Linked DNA regions of Homo sapiens: region 2 is linked to region 1. The links are contacts of gene promoters, found by promoter capture Hi-C in blood cells and fetal thymus (Javierre and others, 2016). All regions are on one chromosome and are shown on one strand. The core of a region is centred on a gene start or on the middle of the fragment in contact, and the rest is flanking DNA. Distances in the headings are between cores, read along the strand shown.

Region 1 (5,490 bases), core at 1,368-3,867:
AGAAGGGAACTAAGATGTTCACCTCTCAGATAAGTCTTCTCTTTTTCCATCTTTCTCTCCTTATCCTTATTTCCTTCTCATCATTCCTGTTGCTTTCCCCCTTTTCCCATCAGTTTTGAACATCTTACTCATGCCTAACCTAATTCTAGGTTTGGACATTTCTAATTTAGCATGCAAGAGTGGAGCCCTATATGTGCATTGCAAAATCCATGCATGTGAGACTTTCTAGGCCTGTTTGAGTTCAGTGTTCATATTTGGTCTGGTTTGCTGTGGCAATGAGTATGGTTCGTTCAGCTCAGTGCCCATTCAGAAGAGACTCTTGGAGCACATTATCTTAAACAAGGATTGGAAATGAATATGCTCCTTAAGATTATTTTGGTTGCAAGCAGCAGCAATCTTCTTTGACTAGCCAAAAAAAAAAAAGTTTTGGAATTATACAGGGATATCTCCTATAACCAAAGGAAACAGGGCAGGTCCTGGATCTTTGGCAAAGGGTGTTAATAGATTTTTTCTTTAGGGAACTGCCATTTGTGACTCAGTTCTACTGAGTAACTATATTCTCTCTGTGTTTCTCTATGCCTCATTTAAGATTTCTGGGGCAAAGAGTCTAAATGGTCTGGTTTAGGATATGCCCACCTCTGAATTAATCTGTTATGTAGACAAGGGACATGGTAGCGCAACCAACTTGTCTCAGTTTTCGCAAAACTATCCCAGTTTAAGCACCGAAAGTCCAGCATCCTGGTATCCCCCTGTCTTTAGCAAACCAGAGTAGCTGGTCACACTAGGACATGGTCGCTTGTGCATATGTGGCCCATAAAAGGACTGCCTCTATGTATTTCAGCCATTCCTACAAAAAAAGGAATTGTGAGAAGCTATAAGGAAACATTTCACAGAGTGTCTATTACATTCTACTTCTTGGCACCCAGCGTGGGCACACACACACACACACACACACACACACACACCCCCCACATCACACCACATACACACTCTCTTCTTTCCATCCTTTCAAAAATACACCTTGCCGCTATGTGAATCAGTTATTTCAAGTATCACCACAAATGGACTACTAACCTTCCCAATGGGAGAAAACCCAAACGCGTGACCTTTTACTTCACTTAGAGTTGATGTTATGCCCTCTAAGTACAGACTTTCTACACGATATCCATTCCTCATTTTCTTCTACTGTAATCCTATCTCCATATATTGCAATGTATGGCCTTTTGCTGGCAAAAGGAGAAAAAAAGAAAAATGTATGTATTATACCATTCCTTTTTAAAAAGGCAAAGAAAGGGCTTGGTGTGCAAGAGAGTATTTATTAAACACTGGTAGCAAAGAAAACAAACAAAAAATGCAACAGTCCTCATTACTGTAGCTGGTGTTGAAGCTTCTTTCTTCTGGGCCCATTCCATAGTTCCCTGTGACTTCAGTTAGCATCTCAGTTGGTTGGGGTGATTTGCTCAATGCAGCAACCTGAGGGGTATGATCCCTTGTGGTCCTGCCTTTATAGGGTTGTGGTAGCCGTCTATTGCCTTTACATCTGGGTATGGCAGTTCAAGAAAGCACCCTCAAGGATAAAACATGCTATTCATGATGTATTATTTTTCTTTGATGACTAGGACAATCCCCCTAGTCAACCCCATGACTCACTGTTTTGTCTATTCCCTTAGATGACCCCACGGATTCCGTTGCACGGAGTCTCTGAAGTCCAAAATTTTTAAGCATAGGGCACAACGTTCTTCATGATTTGGCCTTGTCTCTTCTCATTATGCTTGCTCTTGCATCTGCCATCTGACACTTTGCTTAACTCCTGGCCAGCTACCGGTACAAGCCAAGCTCTCACTCCATAACGTCCTTCTTCTCTGCATGCCCTTCTCCACTGTGCCTGTCCTTTAACTCTTATTCATCATTTATTTCAGTCTCAATTGAAGAGTCATTATTTCTAGAAAGCCTTCTCCGCCCAGCTCTCTACATTGCACCGTTCCCTACAGCACCACCAGAGTGCCTCTAACACTTGATGGTTTCATTGCTTATATATTTTTGTTTCTGTGCATAAGCCTCCCGAGGGAGCCGCCGCTGTTCGATTTATTCTATAGCTAGTTCCTCGCCCTGAGTGTAAGCCTCACGAGAGTGGGGCTGTCCTCTGTTCGCTCTATCCCCAGCCCCTACAGCAGTGCCTGGTTGTTCACAGGCCTATATAGCAGGTGATAATAATCTGAATAATGAAAGAAGAAACACTGTCTTGTGGCGTGATTTACTTCTGTTTTTACTTATGTCAACTTTTAACTAGATTGTGAGGACAGAGGTCAGTGTCTGAGTCATCTTGTGCCTCACTGGGCTTGGGCAGAATAGACGCTTGGTCAAGCATTTGCACACTGGTCGATGGATACACTAGAAAGAGCAGGAGCGCGAGAGGGAATTTTTTTGGCGCCTGCCTCGCCCTTTCAAGCCAAGCCCCTCTGCCCTCTGCCCCTTGCCAGCCGCCCGTCGCCCGCCGCCGGCGATCCCTCTCCCGGGGAGCGGTAGTCAAGCGAGGCCAGCGGGCCGGGAGCGGGCCGGGAGCGGGCGAGGGGCGGGACTTCCGGTCCCGCTCGCGACGCGGACCGCGCCAGGCGGAAGCCCGGCTCCGGGCCAGCATCCGAGAGCCCGGACTGGAGGTGAGTTCGCAGCCGGAACGTTGCAGGCACTTGTTTCCTCAGTGGATGCCTTTCGGCGCGCCGCCGCCCGGCGCCGCGGGACTGGGAGACCGGGTAGGGACGGGAGAGTCGGCATCTCCCGCGCGTGTGGAGGGAAATCCGGGACCCCAGGCTTGAGAGAAGGGCCAGGACTGAGAACGGGGAACCAGGAGAGCCCTAAGGGCAGCCTTTAGGGACTGAGGAGGGAGGCACCGGGGACCCTGAGGCCAAAGAGGCCCTGAGACTGGAGGTTGCGGATGACACGGGGCAGAGTTGCATCTCGGAGGAAAGTAGTCATTCGTGGGGGCGTGTCCCGGGTCCTGGCGGATTGACTGAGAGGATGGCAGGAGATGGCAAAGGTTGGCTTCCAGGGAGAGGTTACAGAGGAGGGAGTCAGTCCTTCTCTGAGGGTCGTAGGTGAGAAGGACGTCTTGACCTAACGAACCAGAAAGATGACCAGCCACCTATTGGATGCTGAACTCCTATTGCTTCATTTGCAATTCATGCAGTTTGTTTTTTGTTTTTAGAAATATATCCCGCTCCGCGCGTGTGGATTTCGGGAAAATATTGTATATTCCTAGGGACCGCTCGAATTCTTGCTTCACCCAGATTCTGCGTGTCTTTGTCAAACTGATAGTAGTTGAGAGTTCTCTTCACCCAAGGAAGACAACCAAAGTTTTCCTTTTGGACTCTTCTCTACCCTGCAGAGTTTAGCTTGTCTTATTTCCCTTGTCATGGGATGAACTAAATGCGTTCAGAATTATGGTGATAATCACATGGAAAGCCAGTGCTGTCAATGTTTGCAGTTTCAACTCATTGTTTTTCTGTCCAACTTTCTAACACATTTTTTCTAAAAGCTATTTTGTTGGGTTTAGTCTTTTAGTTTAACCAATAAAGGCAATTTTACATCAGGGTGCAGCAAATTACTAGCAGTTCTTAAGATTTTACTGTTCCTTTTTATTTCTGCTGTAAGGAAATATATATATATATATATATATATATATATAAATATTTGCCATTGTCAGTGTTTTTTAAAAATATTGATAACCCAAGATCTGTTGTTACACGCACATTAGCACATTTAGTTTTCCCCAGTGGCCAGTGTTTGGTATGTGGGCTCATTATTATTACCAAAGGTAATTATTGATTTAGTTATTATTTACCTTGCATTTATGTTTTATTGGATGTGATTAATATGTGCTTCCTAATCTACATAATATAGTGTTTCACTCAGTGTAATTACAAAGATTCTCCTAGCTTTTAAGTAGGTAGTAAGTGAATTGGATTTTTGCCACAAAGTGAGCAAGGTAGCTAGGAAGAATCATAACACTGTCACTGATGGAGGGTGAGATCTGATGATTGCTTTGCTTGTTTCAGGTGTTTCACATTTCAAATGTTAGAAGTTTTTGTTTTAAAAATTACTGTATTAGTACAGGTAACTTTTAGATCTGATTTGGTGGTCTGACTTGAACTAATTCAGGAAAACTAGAACATTTTATATTTATTGGTACTGCGATATCTTGCTAGCTTATAAATTCTTGATGGCCTTGAATATCTGTGCTTGAGTGAAATACACAGTTATAACGTCCTTATGTTTAGGAGGACTGCTGATATTTACAAGTGTAAAGCAAGGCCTAAACATAAACAGTGCCTTAACATGTAAATGAGCATATTGAATAAGTTTTCAAATTACAAAATGAAGAGATAACACTGATCTCTAAAGTAATTGAATTAACTGCCATGTTAATTTCTGTATATGTCTCAATTTAATCTTATTTGTTTAAGTAGACAATATTGTTTATCTGATAAGACTTGATTTTATTTTTCTTCCGCCTTTTCCCATGGTTTTTGAGAAATAAAGCACTTGAGAAAGCATGCAAGTCTTTAGACATTAGTTCATGGTTGGAGGAAGTGCTCGTTGTTGAAACACAAGAGCACTTGCCCTCTTGGGCAAGTTGGGCTAGCTATATATATGAATGGTATGTTGAGGTTGGATTGCCCTGTATTCCGGAAAATCTTTGGAATTGTATTCTTTCTTCTAATTGTTTAGTAAATTTAGCTTTCTCTCTAGATAAATTATTTTTGTTATTCCGTAGGATTTAGATGTATTTTACAGTTTAACCAATAATGGCAGTTTTTGATTAAGTACAGCGAACTGCTGGCTATTTTATAGATTCACTATTTCTTTTTATTTCTGAAATATGTACAGTGTCTGTATTGGAAGAACTATCAAAATAGTGATAACCAAAACACTGTCTTCATATACACATACATTTGTCTTCCTTAATCTCTAGTTTGTAAAATACGAAATAATTTGCTAAGTTGAGCTCGTTGCTTCTATGCCCTTTGGTTATCAATTTTCTGATTATATAGTACGTTCTCAATTATCGGCATACTCTAGTTAGAAAGCCATTTCCTGCCACTTGATAGAATCAAGAATATTTGTTACAATGGGGAAGTACAGTTTTTGGATGAGGAGCTACGAAAGACTGCTGATCTGTTAACTTAAGGTCCAGCTGCTGCACTGCCTCTGATGAAAAGCATGGCCCTTAATGAGGTTGACTCACACAGGGTTGACTGCTTTTAGTAATACTTTCTGTCCTTTTCCTCTGGTGAGTTAGACCTTTTCTCCAATAGTGACCAAGATGACTTGGGCCTCAGAGTGACTCAAAAGGGGATGAATCACTGCAGTCCTGTTAGTAGGGCCCTGTCCATTCTGCTGAATCTGATCCCATAAATCTTGGCACATTTTCCAGCCTATAGGCATGTAGTTATGACTGTGAACCTCTTGTTTAGGTTATTGTTTTAAAAATAC
Region 2 (5,931 bases), core at 1-2,500, 860 kb after region 1:
AGATGCGACCTGGGCAGTAGGCTGTGAGATGTGATGCCTAAAAGGAAGAAATCCAATGACTCACTCAGCCCTCCAATCTGCAAGCCATCTCTGTGCCTCACTCAGATCTGCAAGCCTCACTCAGATCTGCAAGCCGTCTCTGTGCCAACACTCCACTGGGCAGGGGTCAATGCTCGTAGGAGGATAAAAGGACAAATAGAGGCCAGACGCATTTGTTCAGGCCTGCAATCCCAGCACTTTGGGAGGACAAGGCAGGCAGATGACTTGAGCCCAGCAGTTCCAGACCAGCCTGAGCAACGTGGTGAAACCCCATCTCTATAAAAATTTCAAAAAATTAGCCAGGCATGGTGGCAGGCACCTGTAATACCAGCTACTCAAGAGACTGAGGCAGAAGAATTGCTTGAACCCAGGAGGTGGAGGTTTCAGAGAGCTGAGATCGCGCCACTGCACTCTGGCCTAGGTGACAGAGCAAGACCTTGTCTCAAGAAAAAGAAAAAAGAAAAGAAAAGAAAAAATCGAAAGACAAATAGACACCATGCCTGCCCACAAAGAACTTCCATGCAGTGGAAAGACCAGGCAATGCTCAAAGAAAGAGTGGTTGATTCTGAGGATGATGAGTGATAAGGAGGGCTTCATGGAAGAGGTGGCCTTCCAGTTAGATCTGTAGGATAAGGTGCTTGAAGGATGATGATTTTGAAAGAAGGCAGTGTAAAAAGGGCATTGGAGTCAAGGGGAACAGCAAGAAAATGGCAAGAAGGAACAGCTCTGCACACAGTGCCAACAGAATATTAATTATCTAGAATGAGATCATTCTAGATCACTCACTCCTGGAGTGAGGCAGGAGGCAAACAACAAGAGGAAAAGACACTGGGGGCCTTGAATGCCATCCTAAATGGATGTGGACTTCTTCTCTATAGTTAGGGTGCAGTTGCTCTGAAACAAGCAAGAATCGATGATGGCTTAATTCAGGTAGTGGCACTGGGGCTGGGCAGGTAGGGAGAGGAGTTCCCAAGTTTACCTCCTCTGTGAGTCCCAGAGGCTGGGGATGAGTGTGGAGGAAGGGAAGACACAGCCAGGATACCTCTTGTGATCTTGTGATTTAATAAGAAATAAGTATTTTGGTCTTTGTCCTCAGTTCCTGGCACAAAGCTTCTAAAATCTTTGTAATTTCCTGGGTGATAAATGTGCTAGGAGCATCTTTTGTTGTAATATTTGGTCTTTGACTCTAGTTCCTGACAGAGCTCCTAAATCCCTGGAATTTCCTGGGAATAGAAGAGTCTTTTGTTCTAATAAGGTGACTCTTGTGGGCTCCTGAATGGGGGCTAGTCACAAGAAAGACCAAGCCATGATTAGAAGCTTGGAAAAAGCCAGGCAAGTTGCTTCACAACTGTAATCCCAGAACTTTGAGAGGCCAACGTAAAAGGATCGTTTCAGCCCAGGAGTTCAGCGCCAGCCTGGACAACACAGTGAGATGATATCTGTACTAAAAATAAAAAATAATAAACTAGCTGGACATAGTGGTACACACCTGTAGTCCCAGCTACTCAGGAAACCAAGGCAAGAGGATTGCTTGGGCCCAGGAGATTGAGGCTGTAGCGGGCCATGTTCATGCCACTGTACTCCAGCCTAGGCAACAGAGAGAGACCCTGTCTCAGAAACAAGAAAGAAAGAAAGAAAGAAAGAAAGAAAGAAAGAAAGAAAGAAAGAAAGAAAGAAAGAAAGAAAGAAAGGAGGGAGGGAGGGAGGGAGGGAGGGAGGGAGGGAGGGAGGGAGGAAGGGAGGGCTTGGAACTTTCAGCCCCACTCCCCATCTTCCAGGCAGGGGAGAGGAGCTGGTGACTAGGTTGATAATCCATCATGCCTATGAGATAAAGCCTCCATAAAAATTCCTGAGCTACAAAGACCTAACAACAGAGCTATCATTATATCTGGCAATCCCATTACTGGGTATATACCCAAAGGAATATAAATCATTCTGCCATAAAGATACATGCAAGCAAATGTTTCTTGCAGCACTATTCACAATAGCAAAGACATGGAATCAATCAAAATGCCCATCAATTACAAATTGGATAAAGAAAACGTGGTGCATATACACCCTGAAATACTATGCAGTCAAAAAAAGAACAAGACTATGTCTTTTACTGAAATGTGGATGGAGCTAGAGGCTATTGTCCTTAGCAAACTAATGCAAGAATACCAAATACCACATGTTCTCACTTGTAAGTGGGAGCTAAGTGATGAGAACTCATGAACACAAAGAAGGGAACAACAGACACTGGAGCCTACTTGCAGGTAGAGGGTGGGAGGAGGGAGAGGAACAAAAAAAGAATAACTATTTGGTACTAGGCTTAGTACTTGGGTGATGAAATAATCTGTACAACAAATCCCTATGACAGGAGCTTAGCTATATAACAAACTTGCTGTATTAGTCCATTCTCACACTGCTATAAAGAAATACCTAAAACTGAGTAATTTATAAAGAAAAGTTGTTTAATTGGCTTATGGTTCTGCAGGCTATACAGGCTTCTGCTTCTGAGGAGGCCTCAGAAAACTTACAGTCGTGGTGGAAGACAAAGGTGAAGCAAGCACATCTTACATGGTGGGAGCAGGAGGAAGTGTAGGGGAGGTGCTACACACTTTTAAGATAGCACTAGGGGGATGGTGCTAAACCATTAAACCACCCCCATGATCTGATCACCTCCCACCAGGCCCCTTCTCCAACACTGGGGATTACAAATTGACATGAGATTTGGACGAAGACACAAATCCAAACCATATTCTGTCCCTGGCCTATCCCAAACTTTGTGTCCTTCTCACATTGCAAAATACAATTATCCCATCTCAACAGTCCCCCAAGTTTTAACTCATTTCAGCATTAACTCGAAAGTCCAGTCCAAAGTCTCATCTGAGACAAGACAAGTCCCTTCCACCCATGAGCCTGTAAAATCAAAAACAAGTTAGTTACTTCCAAAATACAATAGGGGTATAGGCATTGGATAATTACTCCCTTTCCAGAAGGGAAAAATTGGCCAAAGCAAAGGAGCTATAGGCCCTATGCAGGTCCAAAACCCAGCAGGGCAGTCATTAAATCTTAAAGCTCTGAAATAATCTCCTTTGACTCTGTGTCTCACATCCAGACCACACTGGTGAAAGGGCTGGGCTCCCAAGGCCTTGGGCAGTTCTGTCCCTGTGGCTCTGCAGGGCTCAGCTCCCATGGCTGTTCTCAAGGGTGTTGAGTGCCTGTGGCTTTTCCAGGTGCACAGTGCAAGCTGTTGGTGGATCTACCATTCTGGGGTCTGGAGGATGGTGGTCTTCGTCTCACAGCCCCACTAGGCAGTGCCCCACTGGAAACTCTGCATGGGGGTTTCAACCCCACATTTCCCTTCTGCACTACCCTAGTAGAGGTTCTCCATGAGGGCTCCACTCCTGCAGCAGACTTCTGCCTAGACATTCGGCCATTTCCATACATCTTCTGAAATCTAGGCAGAGACTCCCAAGCCTTAACTCTTGTCCTCTGCACACCCACAGGCTTAATGCCATGTGGAGGCCACCAATACTTGCAGCTTGCACCCTCTGGAGCAGCTGCCTGAGGCATATCTGGAGCTTGAGCCGCCAGGACACAGGGAGCACTGTCCCGAGGTTGTGCAGGGCAGTGGGGCTCTGGGTCCAGACCACAAAACCATTCTTCTATCCTAGGCCTCTGGGCCTGTGAAGGGAGAGGCTGCCATGAAGTTTGCTGAAATGCCTTCCAGGCATTTTCCCCATTGTCTCAGCTATTAACATTCAGTTCCTCTTTACTTACGCAAATTTCTGCAGCTGGTTTGAATTCCTCTTCTGAAATTTTTTTTTTCTCTACCACATGGCCAGGCTGCAAATTTTCCAAACTTTTATGCTCTGCTTCCCTTTTAAATAAAAGTTCTAGTTTTAGATCATTTATTTCCTTATGCATGTGACTGTAGGTTCTTACAAGCAGCCAAGTCACATCTTGAATGTTTTGCTGCTTAGAAATTTCTCCCTCAAGATACCCTAAATCATCTCTCTCAAGTTCAAGTTCCACAAATGTCTAGAGCAGGGGCATAATGCTGCCAGTCTCTTTGCTAACACATAGGAAGAGTAACCTTACCCCAGTTTCCAATAAGCTCCATCTGAGAGGTCTCCATCTGAGACTTCCTCAGCCTGGACTTCATTGTCCATATCACTATCAGCATTTTGGCCACAACAATTCAACAAGTTTCTAGGAAGCTCCAAACTTTCCCTCATTTTCCTGTCTTCTTCTGAGCCCTCCAAACTCTTCCAACCTCTGCCTATTACCCAGTTTCAAAGTCATTTCCACATTTTCAAGTACCTTTATAGCAATGCTCCACTTCTCTGGTACCAATTTTTTTTATTAGTCCATTCTCACACTGCTATAAAGAAGTACCTGAAACTGGGTAATGTATAAAGAAAGGATGTTTCATTGTCTCACAGTTCTGTAGGCTGTATAGGCTTCTGCTTCTGTCAAGGCCTCAGGAAACTTACAATCACAGCAGAAGGCAAAGGGGAAGCAAGCACATCTTACATAGTGGGAGCAAGAGGAAGGAGGGGTGCCACACACTTTTAAAACAGCACTAGAGGGATGGTGCTAAACCATTAAACTGTTCCTATGATCCAGTCACCTCCCACCAGGCCCCTCCTCCAACACTGGCAATTCCAGTTCAACATGAGATTTGGGTGGGGACACAACTCCAAACCGCAGCACTTGCACATATACCCCTGAACCTAAAATAAAAGTTTAAAAAATAATAATAAAGAAAGAAATCTACACACACACACACACACACACACACACACAGAGAGAGAGAGAGAGAGAGAAAGAGAGAGAGAGAGAGAGAGAAAGAGAGAGAAAGGCAAGGTCACAGCTAAAAAAAAAAAAAAAATCCCTGAGCTACAGAATTCAGAGAGCTTCCAGGCTGCTGAACTCATGGAGGTGCTGGGAGGGTGGTGTGCCCAGAGAAGGCATGGAAGTTCTGCACCCCTTTCCCCATACCTTGCCTGTATTTGTCTGTTCTCATGCTGCTAATAAAGGCATATCTGAGACTGCATAATTTGTAAAGGAAAGAGGTTTAATGGACTCATAGTTCTACATGGCTGGGGAGGCCTCACAATCATGGCAGAAGAGCAAGGAACATCTTACATGGTGGCAGGCAAGAATAGGACATGTGCAGGGGAACTCCTCCTTATAAAACCATCAGATCTCATGAGACTTATTCACTATTAAGAGGATAGCATGGGAAAGACCCACCCTTATGATTCAGTTACCTCCCACAACATGTGGGAATTGTGGGAGTCACAATTCAAGATGAGATTTGAGTAGGGACACAGCCAAGACATGTCATTGCCCTGTGCATCTCTCCCATCTGGCTGTTCCTGAATTGCATCGTTTTATGATAAACCCATAACTTAGTAACTTTTCTCTTTGCTTTCTGTGAACTATTCTAGCAAATTAGTGAACATGAGGAGGAGGTCGTGGGAACCTCCAATTTGTAACCAAGTCAGACAGAAGTTGTGGGTGACCTGGGGACCCACCACTTATGATTGGGCTCTGAAGTGGGGATGGTCTTGTAGGACTGAGCCATTAACTTGTTCTAACTCCAGGCAATTAGTGTCAGAATTGAGTTAAATTGTAGGACACCCAGCTGGTGTTGGAAAATTGTTCAGTGTGGGGGAAAAACCCACACATCTGGTGTCAGAAGCGAAATGTGTTGTGAATAGAGGAAAACAGTGAGTGCTTCTTATATGCCTCTGAATGCTGGCATTTGACAGAGACCCTAACCTCATCTACCCCAGAAGCTGTAACAGTTCAGGACTCATATTTAGCGTAAATAGGGAGATATTTTGATTTCCTCTGAAAGAAAACTACTAGCTAGAAAAGGGACAGGCTGGGTGCAGT

What was found. Contacts are between HindIII fragments. The CHiCAGO score rates a contact against its expected background, and 5 or more counts as called.
Region 2: a fragment that was not itself captured here is called in contact with the fragment with the promoter of DISP1 in region 1 in 2 of 17 cell types (naive CD8 T cells and naive CD4 T cells); the score reaches 5.3 in naive CD8 T cells.

The regions. Positions count from the first base shown.
Region 1 is chr1:222,812,422-222,817,911 of GRCh38, forward strand. It overlaps DISP1 (dispatched RND transporter family member 1), which reads left to right and starts at 2,618. Exons shown (of 9, transcript NM_001377229.1): 1 at 2,618-2,657. RefSeq lists an enhancer at 2,009-2,068 and silencers at 2,309-2,388, 2,479-2,578. The HindIII fragment of the contact is 6,781 bases long and covers 1,386-5,490 here.
Region 2 is chr1:223,670,912-223,676,842 of GRCh38, forward strand. No RefSeq gene overlaps it. Among named protein-coding and RNA genes, the nearest start is that of CAPN8, 8.2 kb to the left of the region's middle. The HindIII fragment of the contact is 207 bases long and covers 1,148-1,354 here.